Linked DNA regions of Homo sapiens: all the other regions are linked to region 1. The links are contacts of gene promoters, found by promoter capture Hi-C in human tissues and cell types (Jung and others, 2019). All regions are on one chromosome and are shown on one strand. The core of a region is centred on a gene start or on the middle of the fragment in contact, and the rest is flanking DNA. Distances in the headings are between cores, read along the strand shown.

Region 1 (4,664 bases), core at 1,069-3,568:
AACAAAGTGAAGGAAATCTGAGGAAGTACATGAAATATATCCATTACACAAGACATAAGCACCTGAAGATAGAAATCAAAATACAGGAGTTCAATAGTAAAACTGCAATAAAAATCAGTATCACTGGGCAATATATGACTGGGTGAGTTTAGAAAAGGGGCATTACTGGTGGTGGGGAGTGCATTAAATTGCACATAAAAGTGCACTCTGGAAGAAGTGAATTAATTTTTTTTTTTTTCGAGACGGAGTCTTGCTCTGTCAACCCAGGCTGGAGTGCAGTGGTGCAATCTGGCCTCACTGCAACCTCTGCCTCCCGGGTTCAAGCAATTCTTCTGCCTCAGCCTCCCGACTAGCTGGGATTACAGGCACCTGCCACCATGCCCAGCTAATTTTTGTATTTTTAGTAGAGACTGAGTTTCAACATGTTGGTCAGGCTGGTCTCGAACTCCTGACCTTGTGATCCGCCCTCCTTGGCCTCCCAAAGTGCTGGGATTACAGGCATGAGCCACCGTGCCTGGCCCAACTGCATTAAATTGGTGTTTGAAGTAGGCACAGCCACAAAGCAACCCATTTAGGATGAACCGAGAAAGCAATGTCATGAAAGCAAAACGTTTGGATGACAGAGAATAAATCATAGTTGCATGTTTAAAAGAATAATGGGAGATTCGATGGGAAAAGCAGGTTGTGGACATATTAGGAAGCCTGAAGGCCAGGTGCAGTGGCTCACGCCTGTAATCCCAGCACTTTGGAAGGCCAAGGCCGGTGGATCACCTGAGGTCAGGAGTTCGAGACCAGCATGGCCAACATGGTGAAACCCCATCTCTACTAAGAATACAAAAATTTGCCAGGCGTGGTATTACAATGCACGTGGTATTACAAGGCACGCGCCTGTAATTGCAGCTACTCGGGAGGCTGAGGCATGAGAATCGCTTGAACCCAGGAGGTGGAGGTTGCAGTAAGCTGAGATCAAACCACTGCACTCCAACCTGGGCAACAGAATGAGGAGCCATCTCAAAAAAACAAACAAACGAACAAAAAACAAGCCTGAAATTCCAAGCTAAGGTACTGTTACTGTAGACAACCAGATGACAGTCCCAGGTTTCTTTTTTTTTTCTTTTTTTTGAGACAGGGTCTTGCCCTGTCACCCAGGCTGGGGTGCAGTGGTACGATCACTGTTCACTGCAGCCTTGACCTCCTGGGCTCAAGTGATCCTCCCACCTCAGCCACCAGAGTAGCTGAGAGTATAAGTGTGAGCCAGCACACCGAGTTAATTTTTTTATTTTTTGTAGAGACAGGGTCTCACTATGTTGCCCAGGCTGGACCTGAACTCCTGGGCTCCACTGATCTTCCCGCCTTGGCCTTCCAAAGTGCTGGGACTACAGGTGTGAGCTATCACAGACAATAACAGGTTTCTGAACCCACATTGAAATGAAAGTTCCCAAAGACTTCTACCAACGACCGATGTCTCCTCGTTGTTCTCAACCTGGAAACCATCCCCTACCCAGCCTGAATGCTCTCAGCAGCCTCAAAACAACTTAAAGGCTGCTTTCACGCACAGTGATTTTCTTTTCTCTTCCTTCACACTGATTGATTCCCTCAAAAAATGCAGGTCCGGAGCTGGCTATGGAGTTGCAAGCTCTAGACCCAGCTACTCCAGAGGCTGAGGCGAAAGAATCCCTGGAACCCTGGAGTTGTAGTCCAGCCTGGATAAAACAGTGAGACCCCAATTCTTTTATCTATTTATTTATTTGTATTTTTTGAGGTGGAATTTTGCTCTGTCCCCCAGGCTGGAGTGCAGTGGCACAATCTCGGCTCACTGCAGCCTCTGCCTCCCAGGTTTAGCGATTCTCCTGTCTCAGCCTCCTGAGTAGCTGGAATTGCAGGAGCTTGTCACAATGCCCAGCTAATTTTTGTATTTTTAGTAAGGACGGGGGTTTCACCATGTTGGCCAGGCTGGTCTTGAACTCCTGACCTCAGGTGATCCGCCCGCCTCGGCCTCCCGAAGTGCTGGGATTACAGGCGTGAGCCACCGCACCCGGCCTTGTTTGGCTGTTGATTTTGTTTTGAGGTTTCCCTTTTTCTACCCAGAAACCAAGAAACCAGGGGTGTCTGAGGCCTCGCAGAAATCTCAGGGAAAGGTCAGGCTCCACCCAGGCTGCACTAGGCGGGGCTGCGACGCCAGGGCGGGACCGTCTCCGGCTGGGAGGGAGGGCGGGCGGCGCGCAGACCCCGGAAGTCCCGCCCCGGGAACGTTCGCCCTTGGGCAGTTTTCTGGGTGGGAAGTGCGATTTTGGCGGGCGGTTGTGACGTTGCTAGCGCTTGTCCGGTGGCTGCTGCGCTGCCGCAACGAATAGGGTTTCTGGCTGCGTAGGAGGGACGGGGGCGCGGAGCTCTGGGAAACTGCGCCAGGCGCCCGAAAGGTGAACACGGGAGTCGCGCGTCTCCCCCGCAGCAGCGGTAAAGCGGAAGTTATGCTGCAGCCGGAGCCCGGGCTTCCTCCCGGAGCCGCGTCCCGGGGCCCGGCTGCCCCGAGCTGAGCGGAGCATCCTTTCCGGGTGAGGGGAGGAGAGGACTTGGCGCGTTCCCCTCGCTGCCCCGGGAGCCGCAGCCGCGGTGTTCATGCCGCGGAGCAGCCAGGCTCCTCCGACGAAAACCTGCATTTATTTGCTGGCGGGACGTTTGCCTTGAAAATGGACAAAGACGCCGCCCTCCGGGGTATTCCTGTTTGCCTGACCCTGAGAGCGCCTTTTTGCTTCAAGACGTGTTGGATGCTCCTGTTCTCCGAATTCTGATACGCTTCTGGGCATAATACTGAAACACAAAACTGCTTTTGCTCTCTCTGTGGTTGGCCGAAAATAGGATTCTTTTTCGTGCAGGTGTCGTTGTTTAGTCGGCTTTACTAACATATTGAAATGGCTCTACCCAAAGACGCCATCCCCTCGCTGTCCGAGTGCCAGTGCGGGATCTGCATGGAAATCCTCGTGGAGCCCGTCACCCTCCCGTGTAACCACACGCTGTGTAAACCGTGCTTCCAGTCGACCGTCGAAAAGGCGAGTTTATGCTGTCCCTTCTGTCGCCGCCGGGTATCGTCGTGGACTCGGTACCATACCCGAAGAAATTCTCTCGTCAACGTGGAACTGTGGACGATAATTCAAAAACACTATCCCAGGGAGTGCAAGCTTAGAGCGTCTGGCCAAGAATCAGAGGAAGTGGGTGAGTAAACCATGGCGTGTTTGTTGGCCAAAAGCCGCAAGTCTTTGAAAAGGTGAATCATCACTTTTCCATTTAAAAAGTAAAAACAAACCAAAAAACCCGACTAGTATTTGTCTAAATAGTTCTCAGAGGTTAGGGGGTTTATGGGTCCCCAAATGTCGATGGATTATAAAGTCAAGGGCAAGATTTTGTCCATTGTCAAAATGCCCGCGCTGTGTTCGATGGGTGTTTGTTGTGTTAAAAATTAAAGAATTGCCCGTCTGGAGCCTTCTTTTTTTTTTTTTTGAGACAGGATCTCGCTCCGTCCTCCAGGCTGGAGTGCAGTGGCGCGATCTCGGCTCCCTGCAACCTCCGCCTCCCGGTTTCAAGCGATTCTCCTGCCTCAGCCTCCCGAGTAGCTGGGGTTACACGCGTGCACCATCACGCCCGGGGAATTTTTCTGTTTTTTAGTAGAGACGGGATTTCACCATGTTGGCCAGGCTGATCTCAAACTCCTGACCTCAAGGGATCCGCCCGCCTCGGCCTGCCAAAATGCTGGGATTACAGGCTTGAGCCACCGCGCCCGGCCTCTGATTTACTTATCTATACATCTCCATTCATTTAATTCTTGATTCTCCTAATCATGCGACGAGGCTAAAGTCGCTTTTTTATCACTCAACCCTGCACCCGGTAGACTCAGGAGCCCCAAACTGAACCCTTGACTCTTTCCTCCACTAATGTGAGCAATAAGCCGGGCGGTGGTTCCTGTCTGGGCTTAGGATATGGTGTCTCCGTTCTCTCGTGGACAGGTCTTTTTTTTTTTTTTTTTTTTTTTTTTTCTAATTTTTTTTGGTCACAGTTATATGTGTACCTGCCTTTTAAACATACGTTTATTTTATTGTAAAAAAATGCCATTTTAAACATTTTTAAACAATAGTTAAAAGAAAAAGCTTTATTCAAATGCTCGCAGACCATACAATTCACCTACTAAAAGTGTGCGGTTGGCCGGGAGCGATGGCTCACAGCTGTAATCCCAGCGCTTTGGGAGGCGGAGGTGGGAGGATCTCTTGAACCCAGGAGTTGAGGCCGGTCTGGGTAACATAAATTCAGTAAAATGTTTAAAAGTGTGCAATTTAATGGTTTTTGGTATATTGCGTTATTTTTAAAATATTGTCCAAAATGTATATAACAAACTGACATTTTAACCATTTTTAAGTACAATTCAATAGCATTAATTACATTCACAATGTAACCATCACCACTGTTTCCAGAACTTTTCATCACCCCAGATAAACTCTAACCGTGAGGCACTGACTCCCCATTTCACCTTTCCCCCCAGCCTCGGCACCTTCTATTCCACTTTCTGTCTCTATGAATCTGGCCATTCTAGGTATTTCATAGAAGGGACTCATGCAATATAGGATCTTGTGTGTCTAGCTTATTTCACTTAGCGTGTTTCTGAGGTTCATGTA
Region 2 (4,664 bases), core at 1,401-3,900, 420 kb before region 1:
TGCATTTGAAACTTACATACTGGCAAGTCAAAAAGAAAGTCTTCATCATTGCCCATGCTCAACAGAGGAAAGGAACCCATGGCAGACATCATTAATAACTAAAACTAAATGAAAAATATTCCAGCCTTAGATATTCTGATACACTCCTTATTTTTGAGGGCTGCAGAAAAGGTTAACATTCAGCTTCTGGAAAGTAATACTAAAATTCCTTCTGAATACTAAATATGCTCAAGTCCACTGTTGAACTATCTACCAAGATGAAGCCTGCTGGAGTTTCAAAATGTCCCCAGTGCTCTCAACCTCTGTGCGTCTCTCTCCACATCAAGAGTGAAGTCAGAGGTTATGTGAATAACCCACCCCACCCCCCAACAAAAGTGGACCAGGGCCAGACGCGGTGGCTCACACCTGTAATCCCAGCACTTTGGGTGGCTGAGGCAGGTGGATCACATGAGGTGAGGTCAGGAGTTCAAGATCAGCCTGACCAACATGGTGAAACCCCATTTCTACTAAAAATACAAAAATTAGCCAGGTGTGGTGGTGCACACCTGTAATCCCAGCTACTCCAGAGGCTGAGACATGAGAATCGCTTGAACCCAGGAGGCGGAGGTTGCCATGAGCCAAGACTGGGCCACTGCACTCCAACCCAGGGGACAGAGTGAGACTCTGACTCAAAAAAAAAAAAAAAAAGGTGGACTGGAAGCCACCTCTTCAGAAGAAAAAACATGATGAAAGCAAATACTTAATATCCAACAAAGTATGACAGCATGTTGCACTGCTCCCTCTAAAGAAGTAACTTCAAGTTCTCAGAATAAGCAGTATATATAAATTCTTTTTTTTTTTTTTTTGAGACGGAGTCTTGCTCTGTTACCCAGGCTAGAGTGTAGTGGTGCGATCTCGGCTCGCTGCAACCTCCACCTCCCAGGTTCAAGCGATTCTCCTGCCTCAGCCTCCCGAGTAGCTGGGACTACAGGCGTGCACCACCATGCCCAGCTAATTTTTGTATTTTTAATAGAGACGGGGTTTCACCATGTTGGCCAGGCTGGTCTCTATCTCTTGACCTTCTGATCCGCCCGCCTCAGCCTCCCAAAGTGCTGGGATCACAGGCGTGAGCCACCCTGCCCGGCCAGTATATGTACATTCTTAAGTAAAATACAGGCAAAAAGGATTTGTCCTTAAAAATGGTCACCGGCACTCAAAATGTACTGAGCATCTCTAAGGGTTCAAGTGCTGGGGACACTAGTGAATAAAGCTCTTGTAGTCTCTGCTGTCATGGAATCTACACATTTATGTGGTGACTGTTTAAAACACTTTTTGTCAATTCTTTGGAAATACAGGCCCCTTAGTTAAGAGCCACTTCTACAACCCCTACATCCTCTTAAAACTAAAAACAGCTTGACCCCACCTGGCCAGATGACTGAACTGTATTTGGCTCTAAATGACTTCTAGCTATCACCTAAAAGGAGTCTGTTCTTAGGGTCTTTTTGCAAATGTGCAAAATTATTAGGCCAATTGTAATTTTGCTGAAAAGGTAAGAACTCTGCAGGAGGGCTTGGGCAAAAATTCAGAAGATGAATTTTTATTACTGTGCAGAACCAGGCCCTAATGATTCAAAATCGACTTAAACCCAACTGCATGTTTTACAAACAAAATCCTGTTTAACCATCATTCACTCCATGAAGGCGAATGTTTCTCTGGCCCCTACCTGACTCCCTAGCATCAGTGCCTGGCACAAAGCAAGAGGCACAGTAAATAGTTCCTACTTGAAACAGTTTTCCCAACACCTCTGCTCTCCTCTGCCTGTCAGAATCTGAGTCTTAAAGGCACTGATATGGCTGCACTTTTGGTTATACCTTTGCAGGTCTGTCTAGGAAAGAGACAATATAGACAGGCTCTGGCAGGTATGGGAATATGTTGGTTGAGAGAAAGGCAAGGAATTAGGGGAAGGGAACTGGAAAAGACGCTCACATCTGGTATTGTGAGAACTCTGGGCCCACGAGGCTTCTTGTTTTTGGGGTATTTTTTTTCCTGGATTTCTTGGAAATGAAAATGTGGATTTCGAAAACTTGATTTTCCTCATAGTTTGCATTATACTTAATTTTTAAATTAAATGTTAATTAAACAAATAATACAAGAAAATATTCTCCTTGTAAAAAAAAAAACGCAAAATGAGGCCAAATCCTCTTTAACTATTAGTCCTGCTTTTCTACACTTACCCAAAGGTAATAATCATTGATATAAAAAATGGTAAGGTCCCACCTTTTTACTTACAAATATGTATGTATATATGTGTCTACACATACACCTGCATGTATTTGTGTACTATACCGTATCATTCCACAATTGGCTTTTTAAAGCTCTATGCCTTGGACATCTTTCCATTTGAGGACTTGAAGGTCTACTATATTCAATTTAACTACTATGGTCAGTTTAATAGTATGGGTATACCGTACCATAGTGTATTTAGCTATTCTCTTGCTAGAGCTAAATTTGGGTTGTTTTATTTTGCACTATTATAAATAATGCTGCCATGAACATCCTCGCACATGCCTCATTCTTGTGTGCATATACAAGCATTTTTATGCAGTAGATAACAAGAAATGGAACTGATATGCAACAGAATTTGTATCTTTTTAATTTACAAAGCACTTAGAACTGATGAGAACTGCAACTATCCCCAAGCGGCTGTATCAATTTATACACTCTAACCAGAAAATATGAGAATGCCTATTTCCTTACACTTACATAGACACTTGAATAGCATCACTTTTTCTAACATAATGGGCAAAAAATTTAACTGATGTAGTTTTCATTTGCATTTCTATAATTTCTGGTAAGGCTGAACACCTCTCTGTGTTTTTAAATGGTCATTTGCATTTTTCCTAAAATTTACTAAATTAGCCTTTGTCCATTTCTATTATGTCCTTTTATCCTCCCCTTATTCATTTGTAGGAGTTTTCCATGTATTCTGGATAGTTATTGTCTGTTATTTGCATCATACATATTTTCTCCAAGTCTGTTGCTTGTCCTTTAACTTTATGATATACAGAAGTTTTAAATTATTAGGTGGTTAAATTTATCCAATTGTTCCTTATGTCTTTTCTTTGGTTCCATGTTAAGAAGTCCTTCCCCACTCTGTGAACATAACATTTTCCATATTTCATTCAAATACTTTTACAGTTTTGTACAGATTTCTTTTAAGTACTTAAAGCTTTAGGAGTTTTCATAATAAAGAATTTCCACATTTCTTCCTAGGGCATATTCCTGGGTTATTTATGTTTTGTTTCTTTTATAAATGGAATCTTATTCCCAGTTACATTTTCTTACTGGTTCTTGGTAGTGCAGGAAAATCCGGAAACCTACTCATTTTTCTTGATTTTGTATCCCACCATCTGTTTATTAGCTGAACACTAATATTTTGTCAATTGATTCCATTAGGTTATAGTTTATTCTACAGGAGTTATTTTGCAGATACAGGCCAATTTTAGCTCTAAGATGATCAAAGAAAAACAATTTCTAACCACATTCAAGATGTAGTTTTAAGGGAAAAGCAGAGAAAATCCAAGTGGAGTATCTCAGAGGGGGATCTGGATCCTAGACAGATCCTCTCCTCAGCCAGAGATTCCTCTTCTAGTCCTTTTCTCAGCTAACACTTTGGAGGATTTTCATGACATAAACTGTTCCTATATGGTTTTGACTGCTGCTGTTCTATCTAGAGCTAAGATGCTATTTGGCCAATTACAAAATAAATGAAAAAATAGGCAGTATATTAACTTACCTCTACACAAAACTTAAAATGAATGCCTTGGGAATCATAAAATGAAATAATTCGATTAGAGAGTGTCACAGTAATGAGAGACCAGTGGACTTCCAGGTGAATAGGAATCAACAGAAGACTCTTTTTAAACAAATCCACCTGATCAAGAAAAGAGAAAGAAATGCAGCCATCACCACAGGCTATCCAAACCACCAAAAACCAGCAGCTTCCATTTGCTGACCTTTGACCTGCACAAGGGCAAAAAAGTAGGAAGCAATGAACCAGAATTTGAACCCAGGTCTTACTCTAAGCCCATGCTTGTAACTATTAAGCTATAATACACAACAATAATACAAAAATAAAGATATACAAAGTACAGTTTTCCAGTTAATCTACTAAACCTGTGTGTCAAGTGCCTGAAGACTTGGCTCCTTGTTTACCTCATTTTCTCATATACATATTTAACCTGGATTCAACTCTTGTTTAGAAAGGAATCATAGTATTAGAAAATGGTATAAGGGGCCAGGCACGGTGGCTCACACCTGTAATCCCAGTACATTGGGAGGCTGAGGCGGAAAAACTGCTTGAGCCCAGGAGTTTGAGACCAGCCTGGGCAACATAATGAGACTCTGTCTCTACAAAAAAATAAAAAATCAGGCCGGGCTCAGTGGCTCACGCCTGTAATCCCAGCACTTTGAGAGGCCAACAGATGGTTTGAGCTCAAGAGTTCAGGACCAGCCTGGGTGACATGGCGAAACACTGTATCTACAAAAAAATACAAAAACTAACCGGGCGTGGTGGTGTGCACTGGTAGTCGCAGTTACTTGGTAGGCTGAGGTTCAAAGGATGGCTTGAGCCTGGGAGGCGGAGGTTGCACTGAGCAGAGATTGCACCACTGCACTCCAGCCTG
Region 3 (4,664 bases), core at 681-3,180, 390 kb after region 1:
AAAATTAGCTGGGTGTAGTGGTGGGTGCCTGTAATCCCAGCTACTCGGGAGGCTGAGGCAGGAGAATCGCTTAAACCCACAAGGCAGAGGTTGCAGTGAGCCAAGATCACGCCACTGCACTCCAGCCTGGGTGACAGAGCAAGACTCTGTCTCAAAACACAAACAAACAAAAACACAAAAAACTGGAGTCTCTGAGCCTACTCTGGCTCAGGAGGCTGCCAACAAAAAAAAAAAAAAGTGGGGGGTGGGAAAGGAAAAAATCATTTACTATCCCAACGTAATAAGATACTTTTCTATTTAGTTTTTTTCTAAAAGGCTTATAATTTGGACTTTCCCATTCACATCGTTAAATCTCCTGGCATTTTATTTTTATGTTTGAGGTGATATAGGGAAGATGCTTGTGATATCTATTATACTCAGTTATGGGCAATGTTTGTACTCTCTAAACTCACTCAGGTACTACACAAACAAAGCTTACTTCCTTCAATTCAATTGTGTAAGGTTTTATTTAGTATCTGTTGTGGGATTATCTAGAAGCAGGGTAGGCCCTGTATAAGGAAAAAAAATAAAATTATGGATTGCTAAAGTTTTGAATCATTAATTAGGAAGGTAATGTGAAGGGGACAATCACATATTTTCTGGCATCCTGATCTATCGTATTTACATAGAAAGAGAGGCGTATATAGGTTCTGGGGCTGATTTATTGTTTTCACATAGAAAGAGAGGCGCATATAGGTTCTGGGGCTGATTTATTGTTTTCACATAGAAAGAGATGCGTATATACGTTCTCTGGCTGATTTATTGTTTTCACAGAGAAAGAGAGGCATATATAGGTTCTCTGGCTGATTTATTGTTTTCACAGAGAAAGAGAGGCATATATAGGTTCTGGGGCTGATTTATTGTTTTCACAGAGAAAGAGAGGCGTATATAGGTTCTTTGGCTGATTTATCGTTTTCACATAGAGAGGTGTATATAGGTTCTGTGACTGATTTATTGTTCTCACATAGAAAGAGAGGCATATATAGGTTCTGTGGCTGATTTATTGTTCTCATATCGAAAGAGAGGCGTATATAGGTTCTCTGGCTGATTTATTGTTTTCACATAGAAAGAGAGGTGTGTATAGGTTCTGGGGCTGATTTATTGTTTTCACATAGAAAGAGAGGCGTATATAGGTTCTCTGGCTGATTTATTGTTTTCACATAGAAAGAGAGGCGTGTATAGGTTCTGGGGCTGATTTATTGTTTTCACATAGAAAGAGAGGCGTATATAGGTTCTGGGGCTGATTCATTGTTTTCACAGAGAAAGACAAGTGTATATAGGTTCTGGGGCTGATTTATTGTTTTCACATAGAGAGGCGTATAGAGGTTCTGGGGCTGATCTGTTTTCACAGAGAAAGACAGTTGTATATAGGTTCTGTGGGCCTTTGGGGGTTCCCATTCTCACTTCCTTTCTTATGAGTGTGGTGAGCATTGGGGTGTGGGGGTGAGTCTCAGGTTTTTGTTTACATTCAAATATGTTACTTTTCTTTTGCTGCAGAGATATGCTATGGTCCAGAAATTTTTCTTAAGATCCTTCAATGATCCTCTACTTTTTCACAAGTAGAGATGGGTGTTTCAGAACAAGTACGGTACTGTGTGGCTAGTTGCTTCTACCACTGCTGTGAGCATGGTCAAAATTAACCAGGCCATGCTTGGGTCACGTCAAACAATGGGCTTACCATAAGCCTCCCATCGTCACTCTTAAAAAACACTCCAAGCCGATAGCCCGTCATGTTTGAATTTGTAAAGGCAACTAACTTGGGAAGTTCTTTCTCATCCAATGTGAAAAATTCCTTTTCTTCTTAAATCACTATTGCGTATGTTTCAGCAGAGGTTTTTTTGTTGTTGTTGTTGTTGATAACCTATAAATACATACGGAGGCTTCTAAAAGGCCTTTGTGGTCCCTGGGGAGCCATACTCTTAATGCAACAAAAATAGCACTTAAAAAATACATACATATATATATATATAATTATTACATGTAAAAAATAGAAAAGGGAACAAAAATTAGTTGGCATGGTGGCATGCACCTGTAATCCCAGCTACTCAGGAGGCTGAAGCAGGAGAATTACTCGAACCTGGGAGGTGGAGGTTGCAGTGAGCCAAGATCGCACCATTGCACTCCAACCTGGGTGACAGAGCGAGACTGTCTCAAAAAATAAAATAAAAAATAAAAAAGGGAAAAAAAGGAACGTGTCCTCATGCCTCTTTCCAGTCAATTCCTGCTGCTCCCAGTACCCACCTCCTCAGCAAAAGGCAACCACTTTGCAGCTTGCACTTTTTTTTAAGGCAGAGTCTCTCTCTCAGTGGCAAGAACACAGCTTATTGCAGCCTCAACCTCGTGGGCTCAAGTGATCCACCTGCCTTGGCCTTCAGCTAGCTGCAGCTATCCTTCTTCAAAAGGACTCAATGGACCTCGGTTTGTGTATCCATACATGATGAGGAGGGATGAGATGGCCTGCAAAGATCCTGCTTTAGGAAGCTCTGATGCTCAAGGGGCCCACGTGGGCAAATAAATATAATGATGTGCATAAACCTAAACATATTTTTATAAATAACCAACCAATAGTTCATGGTGGGTAGCTCCAGTAAACAAAAAAGAAAAAAAGAAAAGAACCACGCAAGGGTACTGAGGGAGAGGCACCACAGACCAATAAATCCTTGCAAAAGAACAGCTGCTTTGGGCAGGCGCAGAGGCTCACGTCTGTAATCTCAGCAATTTGGGAGGCCAAGGTGGGCTGATCAGTTGAGCCTGGGACTTCAAGACCAGCCTGGGAAACATGGTAAAATCCTGTCTCTACAAAATATAAATTAGCAGGGTGGGTGTGATGGTGTGTGCCTGTAGTCCCAGCTATTCGGGAGGCTGAGGTGGGAGGATGGCTTGAGCCCAGATGTCGAGGCTCCCAAGTTCACGCCACTGCACTCCAGCCTGGGTGAGTGAGACCCTGTCTCAAAAAGAAAAAAGAAAAAAGAAAAGACACTTCTTTTTTTTTTTTTGAGACAGTCTCGCTCTGTTGCCCAGGCTGGAGTGCAGTAGCGCAATCTCGGCTTACTGCAAGCTCTGCCTCCCGGGTTCACACCATTCTCCTGCCTCAGCCTCCCGAGTAGCTGGGACTACAGGCGCCCGCCACCACACCCGGCTAATTTTTTGTATTTTTAGTAGAGACGGGGTTTCACTGTGTTAGCCAGGATGGTCTCGATCTCCTGACCTCGTGATCCACCTGTCTCGGCCTCCCAAAGTGCTGGGATGACAGGCGTGAGCCACCACACTCGGCAAAAGCCACTTTTTAATAAACTATAATGTAAAAGGATGGTTCATATAATATGCCGCTTAAGCAGTAAGTGCATTCTAGAGCATAGACAAGAAAAGTGAGCAAATAAGTGATTCTGGTGGGAGGTGAAGCAAATAATAAAATTAAGTTATATCAACATAAAAGCAGTATGATCTTGGTAACTAGAGTAGTTTTATGCTTGAAACTCAGCATCTATCATGCATGGTATAAGTTGGAAATCCAGAACACTTCTCATCTGACAATAGATTACCAGGATGTGCTTGGTCAACAGACTCATGACCAGATTCCTTTAAAAATAAAGACGGAACTTCCAGTGGAGACCGGAGTACTGTGAGCTCTTTGTACTGAAAAGACAGCTTCTCTCACTTGCTAGCTCTCCCTCTGCCCCACATACCAAAAATATCCTGAGAAAATTTTACCCAAGTAAATAGCTATTATGACTACAGTTAAAAAAAAAAAAAAAGAAAGTAAAAGGTATGTTTAAAGACACATTCATGCCTGGGCATGCTGTCTCACACCTGTCATCCCAGTGCTTTGGGAGGCCAAGGTGGGAGGATTGCTTGAGGCTCGGAGTTTGAAACAAGCCTGGGCAACAGAGCGAGACTCCATCGCCACAAAAAATTTAAAAATTCTCTGGGTGTGGTGGCTCACTCCTGTAATCCCACCACTTTGGGAGGCTGAGGCAAGAGGATTGCTTGAGCCCAGGAGTTCAAGACCAGCCTGGGCAAAATGGTGAAACCCCATATCTACTCTCTCTCTCTACTCTCTCTCTCTCTCTCTCTCTCTCTCTCTCAACATATATATATATAATGAAACACAGGCATGATGGCATGCACCTGTAGTCCCAGCTACTTGGGAGGTTGAGGTGGACCCAGGAGGTCAAGGCCGTAGTGAGCTGTGATCATGCCACTGCACTCCAGCCTGGATGACAGATCAAGACCATATCACAAATAAAAAAATTAAAAATTAGCTGGGTGTGGTGGCCCATGCCCTTATAGTCCCAGCTCCTGAGGAGGCTTAGGTGCGAGGATCCCTCGAGCCCAGGAGTTGAAGGCTGTAGTGAGCTGTGATTGTACCACTGCACTCCAGCCTGGGCAACAGAGTGAGACTCTGTCTCTGAAAACAAAACCAAAAACCCCCCTAAGGATACATTTACATTTGATGTATATGCAATGACAGACTGTGAGGACCCTCTCTGGAAATTTGGAATAGATGCCCCTGAGCCCCTTAAGATTTACTGCCACCCATCCCCTCTCCTCAACTGAACTACTACAGATGCATTTTTTTCCAATATCTGTAGCTACGTCAGTGACCTGAAAGTCTCTCAGGAGAA
Region 4 (4,664 bases), core at 1,406-3,905, 360 kb before region 1:
TTGCCCTCCAGCCTGCACAAGAGTGAAACTCTGTCTCAAAAGAAAAAAAAAGAAAATCAACATGCTATAAACATGATCATTTTAGAGAAAAAATAATTTAGTATATTTGGAGAATCTGTGATGTAGGGTCCATTTCCGGCTCTACTAATAATAGAGTAGGAATTGCTAAAGCAATAAGAAGGCTACCAAAGAATAATTGGAGAATGAATATATTTCCCTAAAAGAGAAAGTTCAACGCAGCCTGATGGCCTATTTACCTTAATTTTGAAAATATTACCCACGCCCAAAAAAAGTCACAAGGGTTTCACCATAATAGGTAAGAAAAATACATGTAAAGCACTGTGACCACCTTACCAGTTGACCCTTTCTGAGCGTCTACCAAATTCTTTAAATCAGTGACAGAGTACAATCTAACCAAGAAAAGAAAAAGGAACTAAAAATTCGCAAAGACATGCTTAATATCGCAAATGCCAAGGTGATCTACTTCAATCAGATGTTTGGCAACTAGAGAAGCACAGAACCCCGTTCTCAAACTGAGCTCCATAGGAAGCTGGCTAATAACACAAAGTAAATGGCCATGCATGCCAGGATGAAGGAGGCAGAAAGGCAGGCCTGTGTATAGAGCACTGGGTTTATGACAAGCTAGAATAAAAGCAAAATATTGTTAAATTTCAATTTTTCTATGATTTTTGAAGGATTCACATAATGGCCTACCAAAAAAAAAAAAAAAGGCTGATTTAGAAAGTAATATAGCCCAGGCGCAGTGACTCACTCCTGTAATCCCAGCACCTTTTTTTTTTTTTTTTTTTTTTTTTGAGACGGAGTTTTGCTCTTGTTGCCCAGGCTGGAGTGTAATGGCACTATCTCAGCTCACCACAACCTCGCCTCCCGGGTTCAAGCTAGTCTCCTGCCTCAGCCTTCCGAGTAGCTGGGATTACAGGCATGCGCCACCACGCCTGGCTAATTTTGTATTTTTAGTAGAGATGGGGTTTCACCATGTTGGTTAGGCTGATCTCGAACTCCCGACCTCAGGTGATCTGCCCGCCTCGGCCTCCCAAAGTGCTGGGATTACAGGCGTCAACCACCGCGCCCGGCTGATCCCAGCACTTTTGAGAGGCGGAAGCAGGTAGATCACTTGAGGTCAGGAGGTCGAGACCAGCCTGGCCAACATGGTGAAACCCCATGTCTACTAAAAATACAAAAATTAGCCGGGCGCGATGGCGGGCACCTGTAATCCCAGCTACTCTGGAGGCTGAGGCAGGAGAATCGCTTGAACCTGGGAGGAGGAGGTTGCAGTGAGCTGAAAAGATCGCGCCACTGCACTCCAGGCTGGGTGTCAGAGTGAGACCCTGTCCCCCCTCCAAAAAAAAATTGTGAGCCCAGGTGTAAATGAAGCCCCCCTCCCCAGCACCCTCCTCTACATACCAAGCTTTTCTCCTAGAAAAGATGCACTGGGAAAAAGCTATCTTGAGTAAAGATCAAAACTGATATAAGCCATCCCTCATATACCAATAATATGCCATCAATAAGCGTGAGACATGTGGATGGCTAGGAGAGAGTCTGGTTTCTTCCTGATGCTGCCCACCCAAAACAGAGACTGCAGTTAGGCTCTGACCACACGAGCGCCTGGCATCTCTAGGCAACCTTTTCCATACCAAGCTTAGTTATTCCGGGCAAAATGCAAAAAAAAAACATAAGTAGGAACCTATCATGAAGTGTCCTGGATATTCTTAAATTAAATTTAACCAGATTCTCAAAACATTTCATAACTAACGTCTGCTTTCTTCATTTAATTCTCCAAACATTATAATTTACATTGGTAGAAGAAAGTCCCACTTTACCTGCGGTGAAAAAGGTCGAAATGTCTATCTAGCATGAGATGAAAAACACTACCAGAGAGCAGGGTAGGATTTCACCTCGGCTATTCTCGCTCTAAGTCCAAAACTCCCACATCCTCTCCGCATCCCTCCACCCCGACAGAGTGGCCACAGGGCGTAGAGCGGAGGCTGATACCGCTCAGAGCAGACCGAAGGGAAAAGACGTCTCCCACCGCGCTCATGCCCAACCGGGCTCTCTGGAAAAGGGTCCCGGGGAGCGCGAGGAAAGAAACGAAGGCCGGAAGGAGGCAGAGCGGTCTAAGCAAATAAAAACCCCGGACTTCCACGGCGGCCGGAGCTGGAGGCCTGTGACAGCGGCTCCTCCTCTCAGAGCTTTCCCGGCTTCAGGAGGAGCTGGGGGGCGCCAGCTTCCCGGTGCCTGCGACGCACAGCCCGGCTGGAGCGAGAGCGCAGGGCAGCGGCCCCTCGGGACGAGCTCGCTCGCCTCCCCCGGAAAGGGAGGCTGTGGCCGAGACGGACGGCGGCCTCCAGCTCGGGCGGGGGAGGGCGGCTCGAGGCCTCCGGACCGGGCGCTGAGGTGGCGCACCGGCGCGGGAATGGCCCCAGCCAGCCCCGCCAGGCGATCGCTGAGTCCGTCACTCGTCTGCCCGCGTCCCCGCTTACCTGCTACCCTCGTTCCTGGCAGCTGCCCCGCCGCCGGCCCCGTCGCGGCAGCAGCCTGGACCGCGGACCCCGCCTTCGTCAGCTCCAAGGGAAGCCCCGCCAGCGACGAGGCGTCCGGCCTGTTCGCCGCGGCCACAGCCGCCGAGCTTCCTCTGAAGCGGCTGCCGCGACGCCGGCGCTGGCCTATCGCGTCACCTCCTCCGCGCCCTTCCGCCTGCGAGGCTGGGCCTGGCACCGCCCGCTTCCGGCGCTCCCGCCCCGCCTCCCGACCCGGGGCCGCCCCGCCCCCGCCCGTCACCGCGTCCTTAGCCCCGGCCTCCCTCAGAACGCGCTGGGATGGGAACCGCGTTCAGGAGCTGCTAAGCGCGTTTGAGACTTCAGCCCCTTCTCCAGCTTTTAACCTAAAAGGGCTAAATCAGACCGCAGCTAGTGTACACCCCTACCCTCCGCTGATCCCGTCACCCCTGCGCCGAAAGCAAAAGACCCATTCCAGCTCTGGACGTTGTGAGGCCTGGCCCAGGCGTCCGCTCTCTGGTTTTCCTATTGATCTTACCCCTGGTATTGTGATTGGCCTCTTTATCTATGTCTTACCCGCCCCAACTGTGAATGCTTTCCAAAATTATAAGCCGATGTCCTGACAGGCAAAAACATAATAATAGCAGATTTATGGCGGAAGATGAGTTCAGTTTTGAACATACTCGATCTGGAAGAATAAAGTGGAGGTGACTGCAATGGAAAACCAACAGTGCGTTGCTGAGAGCCTGTGTAGGCAGTAAGGATATGCATTGATGGTGGAGAAGATAAAAACAATACCGAAGCCAACTGCAGGATGGTTTGCTTTTAATTATCATCATGTGTCAGAAAATTCTAAACAATGTTAATGAAAAAGTACTCCTTTCCAAACAAAAGCTTTGTTTAGTCTTAGTTCTAAGCAATGGCTGCAATTACTGTTGATTTTTTTTTCTTTTTTCTTTTCTTTTTTTTTTTTTTCCAAACAGGGTCTTGCTGTCTCGCCCAAGCCGGAGTGCCGTGGCACACCCTAGGCTCGCTGTAACCTCTGCCTCCTGGGCTCAAGCGATCCTCCCACCTCATCTTCCAGGGTACCTGCGACCACAGGCTCCTGCACCACGCCCGGCTAATTTTTTATTACTATTACTATCATTATTTTTGTAGCGATGACATCTCCCTATGTTGCCCAGGCTGGTCTTGAACCCCTGAGCTCAAGTGATCCTCCCACCTGGGCCTCCCACAGTGCTCGAATTACAGGCGTGAACCACCACACCAGGCCCTCTCACTTCTTTTTAACAGTTTCTCTTTGTCAGTGATTTTTTTTTTTTTTTTAGAGGAGTGTCGCTCTGTCGCCCAGGCTGCAGTGCAGTGGCGCCATCTCGGCTCACTGCAAGCTCTGCCTCCCGGGTTCACGCCATTCTCCTGCCTCAGCCTCCTGAGTAGCTGGGACTACAGGCGTCCACCACCACGCTTGGCTAATTTTTTTTGTATTTCTTTAGTAGAGACCGGGTTTCACCAAGTTAGCCAGGATAATCTCGATCTCCTGACCTCGTGATCTGCCCGCCTCAGCCCCCCAAAGTGCTGGGATTACAGGCGTGAGCCACCGCACCCAGCCTGTTAGTGATTTTTAGCCATTTATTTTGTGCCCTATCTTTGTTTTCTTTGTATTTATCTGTCTTGGATATCATTGAGTTTCTCTGATTTGTGGGTAGATGTCTTGCATCAGTTTTGAGAAATTCTCAATCATTATCTCTTCAGATATGGTTTTTGCTGCATTCTCTATGCCTGTTCTCCGAGACACCAATTACATATGTAAGATTATTATTATTATTATTGAGACAGAGTTTCACTCTTTTTGCTCAAGCTGGAGTGCAGTGGCGCAATCTCGTCTCACTGCAACCTCTGCCTCTGCCTCCCGGGTTCAAGCGATAATCCTGCCTCAGCAGTATTATCTACTGAGGTAGATAATACTATTATAATAGTATTATTATCGAGTAGCCAGAATTACAAGCGCCCACCACCACGCCCGGCTAATTTTTGTATTTTTAGTAGAGATAGGGTTTCACCATGTTGGTCAGGCCGGTCTTCAACTCCTGACCTCCGGTGATCCACCTGCCTCAGCCTCCCAAAGTGCTGGGATTACAGGCATGAGCC

The links. The method cuts DNA at HindIII sites, captures the fragments that hold promoters and counts their contacts. A contact is called where the count stands out against the background at its distance.
Region 2: a contact is called between a fragment that was not itself captured here and the fragment with the promoter of RNF168 in region 1, in 1 of the 25 tissues and cell types used here (IMR-90 fibroblasts).
Region 3: a contact is called between a fragment that was not itself captured here and the fragment with the promoter of RNF168 in region 1, in 2 of the 25 tissues and cell types used here (lymphoblastoid cells and thymus).
Region 4: the fragment with the promoter of SENP5 here is called in contact with the fragment with the promoter of RNF168 in region 1 in 1 of the 25 tissues and cell types used here (dorsolateral prefrontal cortex).

The regions. Positions count from the first base shown.
Region 1 is chr3:196,501,422-196,506,085 of GRCh38, reverse strand. It overlaps RNF168 (ring finger protein 168), which reads left to right and starts at 2,318. Exons shown (of 6, transcript NM_152617.4): 1 at 2,318-3,213. The coding sequence starts at 2,913. LOC105374306 (a long non-coding RNA gene) reads left to right here and starts at 4,034. Exons shown (of 2, transcript XR_924896.3): 1 at 4,034-4,664. LOC105374307 (a long non-coding RNA gene) reads right to left here and starts at 734. Exons shown (of 3, transcript XR_924897.3): 1 at 1-734. RefSeq lists a silencer at 2,069-2,368 and enhancers at 2,989-3,078, 3,119-3,188, 2,840-3,523, 3,524-4,208. The HindIII fragment of the contact is 9,103 bases long and covers 1-3,661 here.
Region 2 is chr3:196,922,663-196,927,326 of GRCh38, reverse strand. SENP5 (SUMO specific peptidase 5) reads right to left here. Exons shown (of 10, transcript NM_152699.5): 7 at 3,776-3,913. Among named protein-coding and RNA genes, the nearest start is that of NCBP2-AS1, 15 kb to the left of the region's middle. The HindIII fragment of the contact is 3,504 bases long and covers 899-4,402 here.
Region 3 is chr3:196,112,725-196,117,388 of GRCh38, reverse strand. No RefSeq gene overlaps it. Among named protein-coding and RNA genes, the nearest start is that of LINC00885, 28 kb to the left of the region's middle. RefSeq lists a silencer at 3,897-4,014. The HindIII fragment of the contact is 5,653 bases long and covers 1-4,664 here.
Region 4 is chr3:196,865,911-196,870,574 of GRCh38, reverse strand. It overlaps SENP5 (SUMO specific peptidase 5), which reads right to left and starts at 2,655. Exons shown (of 10, transcript NM_152699.5): 1 at 2,502-2,655. RefSeq lists an enhancer at 1,146-1,647 and a silencer at 2,299-2,878. The HindIII fragment of the contact is 4,194 bases long and covers 1-4,160 here.